3 separate regions of the Homo sapiens genome follow, and regions 1 and 3 are each linked to region 2. The links are contacts of gene promoters, found by promoter capture Hi-C in blood cells and fetal thymus (Javierre and others, 2016). All regions are on one chromosome and are shown on one strand. Each heading gives the region's core, a stretch centred on a gene start or on the middle of the fragment in contact. The rest is flanking DNA. Distances are from core to core; before and after follow the strand shown.

Region 1 (3,154 bases), core at 580-3,079, 6.9 Mb after region 2:
GTTGCAACTCGACAGAGCCGCATTTACTCCAGAACCCAATCCACACACCTGCTCATCCTGCCCCGAGAGGAGTGCCTGAAGCCAATAGCAGGGAACTAGAGCAGACTTGGGTGGATCTTCATTGGATATTAGGTATCTTGCCCTAGATAGGCAGCAGTGGCCTTACAGATGCTGACAGATGATCTGATTAGATGCACAGTTGCTGGGTGGCGTCTGGGGCCAGTCTATTGGCAGTTCTGGGAGTGGGAACTATTTGGGCTCTGCAAAGATGGTTTCACCTTTAAGAAGGGCAGTATGGGGAGGTGAAGATGGGGCCCAAAGGATAGAACATAGTCAAAGAAGCAGGGCCACAATGCCCCTTTAATTCCCAAGCCCTAGTTGGGCAGTGCTTGGTGACACATCCCATTACCTCACCTTAGATCAATGTCTACTGAGCCATCATTAGCTCTGCTTCCTCACTTCTTCACAGTATCTGATGGCCCATCACATGCTGCTCAACATCTTAGACCAATGTCTGCTCACCCATTACCTCCCTTCACCTCATCCAGCACTGTATCTGAAGCTTCACTATTCTTCCTTCAGTTTTGGATATTTTGTGATACAACATTATCCCCAACTTAGGACAATGTCAGCTGACTCTCAGGAGGGTGCCTGGAGATCACCTCTTCCTTCCTAACATACCCTAGAACAAGGTCTGGTCCCCTTCATTATTCCCATTTTACCTTACTCCTAAGTGTATCACTCCTCATGAATTCCAGGAAATATGGAGGAAAACACATTTCACTGTACATGACTTTCAATAATTTCTCCTTTATATTTATTGTAACGTGATATTTTAGTGCTGACATATATATGTATATGTATGCCCATTTATATAAAAGACTAGTTTTTAGAGAAATTTTAGGTTCACAGCAAAATGGGGCAGAAGGTACAGAGATTTCCCATATATCCCCTACCCTCACATATACACAGCCTCCCCCATCATCAACATCCCCCTTCAGAGTGGTACATTTGTTACAATTGATGAAACTACATTGACACTATCGGCCAAAGTCCATGGTTTAATTAGGGTTCAGTCTTGATGTGCATTCTGTGGGTTGAGACAAATGAATAATGACATGTATGCATTATTACAGAAGGATAAAGAGCCGTTTCACTGTCCCAATAATCCTCTGTGTTTCGCCTACTCCTCTAAACTCCTGGCTATTTTCTTTTGTCTCCATAATTTTGCCTCTGAACCATAAAGTATGCAGCCTTTTCAGATTGATTTGTTTCACTTAGTAATGTGGATTTAAGTTTCTTCCATGTCTTTTCGTAGCTTGCTAGCTCTTTTTTTTTTTTTTTTCTCATTGAATAATATGCTATTGTCTGGAAGTACCATGACTTATTTATCCATTCACCTACTGAAGGACACCTTAATTGCTTCCAAGTTTTGTTGATTATGAATAAAGATGCTATAAACACCTGTGTGCAGGTTTTTGTGTGAACATGACTGTAATATTTTAAGGTCGTATTTATTGAGGTATAATTTACATACAGTAATATTCACCCTTTTTAGTGTGGAATTCTCAAAGTTTTGACAATTACATCATGCAGTCAATACCACAGTCAAGACAGAGAACAGTTCCCTCACTTCCCTACATTTCCTCCTATTACTTTTTAGTCCATCCCTTTGCCCACCCCCAGGCCTTGATGATCACAAGCCCATTTTCTGTCTGTATAATTTTGCCTTTTCCACATGTTGTATAAATGGAGACATCCTGTGTGTGTCTCTGTCTGTTTATATATGTGTATGTATCTCTCTTTTTGAGTCGGACTTGTTTCATTTAATGTGATGTATTTGCGATCTATCCATATTGTTATATGAGATAAAAATGGAAAATAAGGTGATGAAAAGATGCTCGACATCTTTAATTTTCAAGAAAATGAAAATGAAAACCACAATGAGATACCTGTACACACCTTTTAGCATGCCTAAAAATAAAGACATAATGCTGAGAGTTGGCAACAATGCAGAGCAATGGAAACTTTCATGCATTGTTGGTAGAAATGTAAAATGTTACATTCACTTTGGGCAAAAAGTTTGGCAGCTTTTTTTTTTTTTTTTGAGATGAAGTTTTGCTCTTATTGCTCAGGCTGAAGTGCAATGGCATGATCTCGGCTCCCCACAACCTCCACCTCCCAGGTTCAAGCGTTTCTCGTGCATCAGCCGCCCAAGTAGCTGGGATTACAGGCATGCACCACCACGCCTGGCTAATTTTATATGTTTTTAGTAGAGGTTTAGTTAAGGGTCTCTCCATGTTGGTCAGGCTGGTCTCGAACTCCTGGTCTCAGGTGATCTGCCCGCCTCAGCCTCCCAAAATGCTGGGATTACAGGCGTGAGCCACCATGCCCAGCCTTGACAGCTTCTTATACTGTTAAACATACACTTATCATATGACCCACCAATCCCTCTCCTAGGTATTTGCCCTAGATAAGTGAAAAATTGTTTATATAAAAACACGGGTACTCAAATTTCACAGCAACTGTATAATTGCCAAAATTAGGAAACAACCCAAATGTAACAGTGGGTGACTAATTAAACAGTGGGTGACTAATTAAACATCTATACAATAGAATACTACCCCAACATGAAAAGAAGTGATTTATTGACACTGGCTGCAACATGGATGAATCTCAGAAGTACTCTTTTATTTTACTATGTGATAGTTTAAATGACATTTGAAAAATTATTAGATACTAGATTATAAATATAGATTTATGTATTTTATTTTATGTGTGCATATCATACACTGTATATTGTGTTGACAGTATGTTATAGCACATTATGATATTATACCTACTACAAAATAGTTTCCATTTTATATAATATATAGTATCGTATGATTATATAATTTTTATATTTTATATATCAAACTTTCATGTAACATTTTAGTTATTTCTACTTTTACATAATCACATTTAATGTTTATAGTATAAAGTTATAACTATAATAACGGGTCATAGGGTTCAGACAGCCTGCAGTTGGAGGTGGTCAATATTTTTATTGTTTGTCAAGAATCCCAATTCTGGCTGATTTAGCACCAAGGAAGCTTTCTCCAGCTTTGGGCTTTTGCACCAACTGTGTTCTCTGGGCATACACTGCTTCCCCAGT
Region 2 (2,917 bases), core at 367-2,866:
GTGAAAGAGGAAGGCCTCTTTGCAGTTGAGGTAAGAGGAAGGCATCTGTCTCCTGCTCATCCCTGGGAATGGAATGTCTCGGTATAAAACCCAATCGTACATTCTATTTACTGAGATAGGAGAAAACCGCCTTATGGCTGGAGGTGAGACATACTGGCGGCAATACTGGTCTTTACTGCACTGAGATGTTTGTGTAAAGTCACACATAAATCTGGCCTATGTGCACATCCAGGCACAACTCCTTTCCTTAAACTTATTTATGACAGAGTCCTTTGCTCACATGTTTTCCGGCTGACCCTCTCCCCACCATTACCCTATAGTCCTTCCACATCCCCCTCACCAAGATAGTAGAGATAGTGATCAATAAATACTGAGGGAACTCAGAGACCAGTGCCGGTACAGGTCCTCATTTGCTGAGCGCCGGTCCCCTGGGCCCACTTTTCTTCCTCTATACTTTGTGTCTGTGTCTTATTTCTTTTCTCAGTTTCTCATTTCCACCTTGTGAGAAACACCCACAGGTGTGGAGAGGCAGGCCCCCTTCAATATCAAACTCCAAATGAACAACTATGGAAATGTGACAGCTAAAGACAACGCATAAACTGGACTTTGAATAGGTGAAGGGTGGGGCAGAGGACAGTCATAAGGACTTTAAATGAAAAATTTAACAAATTCGTATATGGAACTGCAGATTAGATAACATGATGCTAGGTAATATGCTATCCAACACTATCTAGTAAGTACACTACAAATACTAGTATTCTTTTAACACATCTATCTGACATGTAATCGGTAACAGTATTATTTAACATAATATCCAATATTATCTACCATGTTATGTGAAACCCTATAACCAGCCCTTCCTAAATGCCTCTTACCAAGACACCCCACAATTACCGTGGTATGTGGGCTTCCTTGCTGCAGAAAGCTACCAATCAGCTGTCTCTGGTTACAGGTATGTTCCTGGTGGTATTTGGTTGATGGTCATCAACAAAGCAAACAGGAAAAATGTAAACACTTGGCAAATTTGGGTAAAGGGTATATGAGAATTTCTTATACTGTTTTTGCAATTTTTCTATAGCTTTGAAATGATATCAAACGTTTTAAAATATCAGGCAACAAGAGACCACTCACCAAGTGACAGGGACAACTTTAAGGCTTTCATTTGTATTATCTCTTTCAATTCGCAAAACAATTCTATTAGGATGACCCTATAAGCACCATTTTAAAGAACAGCAATGGGAAGTACAGAGACATTAACATTCCACATCACACTGCGAGAAAGAGTGTACACACTGCATACGTAGGGAGGCGGACTGAGCGAGGTCAAAGTCCTGGAAACCCTCAGAGCAGGGCACACAAGGCCACCCCAATCCCACCCCCCGGGAGGCGAGCAAAGCCCCCCGACGCCAGAAGGCTCCGCTGACGGGAACAATAAACACCCTCCCCGCCCTCGCACCTCTAAACCTCTGCTCTTCGCCAAGGCTTCTTTTCCCCTGAGACGATCATCGATCATCGGGTGGTTGCGAGCCTCAAGCAAAGGGGGTTCGTTCAAAATGTCCTGCAAGACGCAGAAATGGCTCAAACTACCCCGGTCATTAAAGCAGGAACCTCAGACTAGGAGACCGGAAGTGTCCTCTCTGCGCCAGAGTGTCTGGACTCCACTCCCCAGAATTCCCCGGACCCGCCCCCCTGAGCCAAAGGGCCCGGGACTCCGCAGAGTGTCTGGACTATCGTTCCCAGAATTCAACGGTTCACCTGCCAGAGCCAAAATACCCAGTGTTCCACGAGCCAGTGGACTACACTTCCCGTAAAATGGACTACTCTTCCCAGAATTCTCCGGAAACGCCTACCTGAGCTGAAGTATCAGGAATCCCGCAAGGTGTCTGGACTGCAGAGCCTCAGATGCAAAAGGAAAATGTCCATCACCTCACCCTTTAGGCTCAAGTGTTGCGACTACATGGTGCTCCTCGATTACACTTCCCGCAACACCCACGGGGAACGAATTTCATAGCCCCAGGTTCCTGGTGGGGAATGCAGACTGTTACCCTGACAGTTGTCCTTCCCAGAGTCCTCGAGCGAAAATATTGAATAGAAAGAATTTATGAAGTCTAAATGTCTCCCATGATTGACAGGAGTGTTCTTGGACAGGGAACAAGCGAGGAGATACAATATTCAAGGAGCTAGATAGAGTGACTGTTGAGCCGTCAGATGGCTGAAAGGAGGCTCAGGGTTTAAAGCAAGGATATCCAACTCCAGGGCCACAGACCTGTACCGGTCCACTGACTGTTAGGAACCGGGCGGCACAGCAGGAAGTGAGCGGCAGGTGAGGGAGCATTATGGCCTGAGCTCCACCTCCTGTGAGATCAGCCCAGCATTACATTCTCATAGGAGCGCGGATCCTATTGTGAACTGTGCGTGCGAAGGATCTAGGTCAGGCGCTCCTTATGAGAATCTAATGGCTGAGGTGGAACAGTTTCATCCCGAAACCATTCCCCAGTCCGTGGAAAAATTGTCTTCCACAAAACCGGTCCATGGTGCTAAAACGGTTGGGGACCACTGGTTTAAAGAATGAGCCAGGTAGAATGGGTTGGGAGGGGCAATGAGAAGCCAGGAAAGCATCAGCCCCTGTAACTGAAAAGTAGATCAGTGGCTTCCCGTTTGCAACGTCCAGTTAACAAGAGGGAGATCTGGTATAAAGAAAGTGATTTATTCTAGAGCTAGCGTAGGGGAAGTAGCACAGGTGTTGTCTTTAAGTGCACGGCTTGGCTTTTAGAGCAGAAAGCAGGCACTTTTAAAAGGTAGGGGAGGAAGAGGGAAGGGGTCTGTGTGCTGGCTTGGTGCCTTATCTATTAGGCAGTTGAGCTGGCTTTTTCATGGGCAGAAATAAGTTGTAACCAGAAGGGAGAGAGTAGCAGGC
Region 3 (2,997 bases), core at 191-2,690, 6.6 Mb after region 2:
CCCTCCCCCAACCCCATGACAGGCCCCAGTGTGTGATGTTCCCCATCCTGTGTCCAAGTGTTCTCATTGTTCAGTTCCCATCCATGAGTGAGAACATGTGGTGTTTGGTTTTCTGTCCTTGCGATAGTTTGCTCAGAATGATGGTTTCCAGCTTCATCCATGTCCCTACAAAGGACATGAACTTATCCTTTTTATGGTTGCATAGTATTCCATGGTTATTTTGTTTATTCTTAAACATTATATACCAATTCCACATTCCATCACTCTCTTTTTCTTTCATATTTCCACATACCTCAGTTTCTCTGTTACCATAAGCCAGTAAATTTTGGGCAAGGGGAAAAAAAGAAGTTTAAACAGGGGAGTGTTACTTAAGATGCATTTTATAAGTATAGAATTCTCGATTAAATCCTCAATTTATTTTAAAATTGGTTTTAAAGGATATTGTTGCGACAACTAGGGAAGTATAGAGATAATATATTTTATTGTACGAATGTTTAATATCTTTGGTGTGATAATGGCATTGTGTTTATGTAGGAGGCTTCTTAGTTTTTGGAGGTACATTCTGAAAGAGTTAACGTGAAGTTTGTGTATATGTTTTTAGAGAAGGAAAGAGAGGTAGAAAAATGTGGCAATGCTGAATATAGATTAAGGGTTTTAGAAGTATTCTTTGTACTGATCTTCCAACATTTTTGTAGTTTGAGTTTTGTGTTTTTTGTTTTTTGTTTTTTTTTTTTTGAGACGGTGTCTCCCTCTGTTGCCCAGGCTGGAGTGCAATGGCGCGATCTAGACTCACTGCAACCTCCGCCTCCTGGGTTCAAGCGATTCTCCTGCCTCAGCCTCCTGAGTAGCTAGGATTACAGGCGCCTGCCACCATGCCCAGCTAATTTTTTGTATTTTTAGGAGAGGTGAGGTTTCACTATGTTGGCGAGGCCAATCTCGAACTCCTGACCTTGTGATCCGCCCACCTCAGCCTCCCAAAGTGCTGGGATTACAGGTGTGAGCCACTGTGCCTGGCCTCGAGTTTTTAAAAGTAATAAATTTTGGAAGAAAATTTCTAGAATGTATACATACAAGTATGTTTAGAGTGAACTAGAGGGAAGGAAAGTAGGAGGCAGTTAAACTGTTTTATGAAGCTTCAACTCCCTGTCTAAAGAAAAAGTTTTCTTAATGGAGAGCTCTGTGACTTAATGTTTAACTAACATAAGTGGGAGCTTCCTTCTCAAACATACGGGCCCTAAGAGAGAAGTAGAAATGTTAAGAGATAAAATATAAGACACTTAGATGATCAGTTTAAGGGATAGATCATCCTATTCTTAGGAATTATACGTAAGAGAAAGTAGAGAAAATGAAAACAAAAACGTGCAAGAAAATTTCCTAGAAGAGAACAATAAATATACGGATTGAAATGACCGTATGTCCGTGATATATACTGACCAAAAGCTCAGTGCGATTAATGAGAAAAACCCACACCAACTATCGGAAACCAATAAGAGAGAAGAAAGGCCAAAAACTTTCTACAGAGGAAAAAAAAAGTTGGAATGATCTAGAAGTAGAATGTCAATGTACAGCAACACTAGAAGTCACTGGAGCCACAAAGTGAAGTCACATTGCTTTAAATTTCTAAGGAAAAACTGTTTTTCTGAGAAGCCTACAGTTAGCCAAATTATTATTTGAGTATGAGAGTAGAATAAAAATGTTTTCAAACATGCCAACCAAATTAAAGAGAAAACAAAGTAAAGAAGCTTTTGAGAAATTAAATTTTTGATTCCTGTAGTTGCAACTGGCTTTGGCAACTTTAGATCCCAGATAGAGCGGTACCCACAGAGTTTAATGCTGTTCTTCCAGCCATCAGTGGGTGCCCTTATATAAGTGGGTCCAGCCCTTATATCCTTCTTTCATGTGTCATTGGCCCTTTTCCCTTGTGATTTAAACATGTGTTGCAAAGTGGTGTGGTAGGACCTGGAATCCGGGGACACATGGAAATAGTGGAGAGAAGACTAGGAAAGAGTTGGGGGTGGGGGAGAAAATACTGTTGTCCACCACAGAGCCATATCCCCAGTCTGTGAGTTAGTTCACGCTAACTAGAGAATTTCTGCCTTGAGAGATGCTGCCAGGTGTAGAGCTTTCAATGAGTTTTAGGTTTTTGGCAAAACGTGGATTCAAGCAAGTGGAGTGTTAAAAAATATATATTATTATGTAGATATGGCAGTTGCTGTAAGCATTTTAACTGTATCAGAGCTCATTTCAGGAGGGAATCATGCATGATAGTCCAGAAACTAAACAAATTGATATGGCTGGAAGTAAGTTCTTTGCAGTGGAAAGAAAAATAACATTTGTTATGAATATAACATTTAGTTTGTGAATTTATTTCTAAAGTATTTCCTCAATTAGCTTAAAGTTGAGTTCCTCCAGTATACTGAATTCCGTCTTTTCTGAGGCCTTACCAATTGCTACTGCTTTGCTTGTAATGCTTTCCCACTCCCACTCCATCCTAGCTAATTTACTTGACTTTAAACTGTTATCCTAATCCTAACTTTATTTGCAAGGTATTTTTGAGCCCCATGACAAAATAAACTGAAGGACTTCTCAAAAGTTTATTGTAATGAGGGGACTTTGGGTTTCTCCTTAGGGATGTAAACAGCTGGAAAGAACTTTGCTTCAATCATTACAACAAGGAAACTACAAACTTCTACCGTACAACAAGGAAATGGACAAACTACAAAATAATTTTTCTAGGACCCTTCAGAGAACTGAGGTCACAGGGCAACCAAGTAATCTTAAATCTGGGGAAAGAAAGATGCCAGCTGAGAGAAACAGGACTCAAGCTTTACTTACCTGGGATGGACTCTGCCAGACACCATATAAGCCAGTAAGAAAATACAGCTATCAAGTTTTTAAACAAATTTTTAAAGTGTGAATGTCAGCTAATGAAAGTGTGAAACCACTGGGGGACTTGCAAAATTAGGGAGGTGGGGGTTGCAGTCTCTTGTAGGCTTT

Evidence for each region. The method cuts DNA at HindIII sites, captures the fragments that hold promoters and counts their contacts. A CHiCAGO score of 5 or more calls a contact.
Region 1: a fragment that was not itself captured here is called in contact with the fragment with the promoter of ZNF223 in region 2 in 1 of 17 cell types (total CD4 T cells); the score reaches 5.5 in total CD4 T cells.
Region 3: a fragment that was not itself captured here is called in contact with the fragment with the promoter of ZNF223 in region 2 in 1 of 17 cell types (total CD4 T cells); the score reaches 5.4 in total CD4 T cells.

Annotation. Positions count from the first base shown.
Region 1 is chr19:37,179,888-37,183,041 of GRCh38, reverse strand. It overlaps ZNF585B (zinc finger protein 585B), which reads left to right. Exons shown (of 5, transcript NM_152279.4): 5 at 1-1,463. Among named protein-coding and RNA genes, the nearest start is that of ZNF585A, 8.8 kb to the right of the region's middle. The HindIII fragment of the contact is 2,530 bases long and covers 565-3,094 here.
Region 2 is chr19:44,050,735-44,053,651 of GRCh38, reverse strand. ZNF223 (zinc finger protein 223) reads right to left here and starts at 1,616. Exons shown (of 5, transcript NM_013361.6): 1 at 1,457-1,616. RefSeq lists enhancers at 1,390-1,629, 1,449-1,950 and a silencer at 1,670-1,729. The HindIII fragment of the contact is 18,414 bases long and covers 1-2,917 here.
Region 3 is chr19:37,454,706-37,457,702 of GRCh38, reverse strand. The region is part of intron 2 of ZNF569 (zinc finger protein 569); the gene reads left to right. Among named protein-coding and RNA genes, the nearest start is that of ZNF569, 11 kb to the left of the region's middle. The HindIII fragment of the contact is 609 bases long and covers 1,136-1,744 here.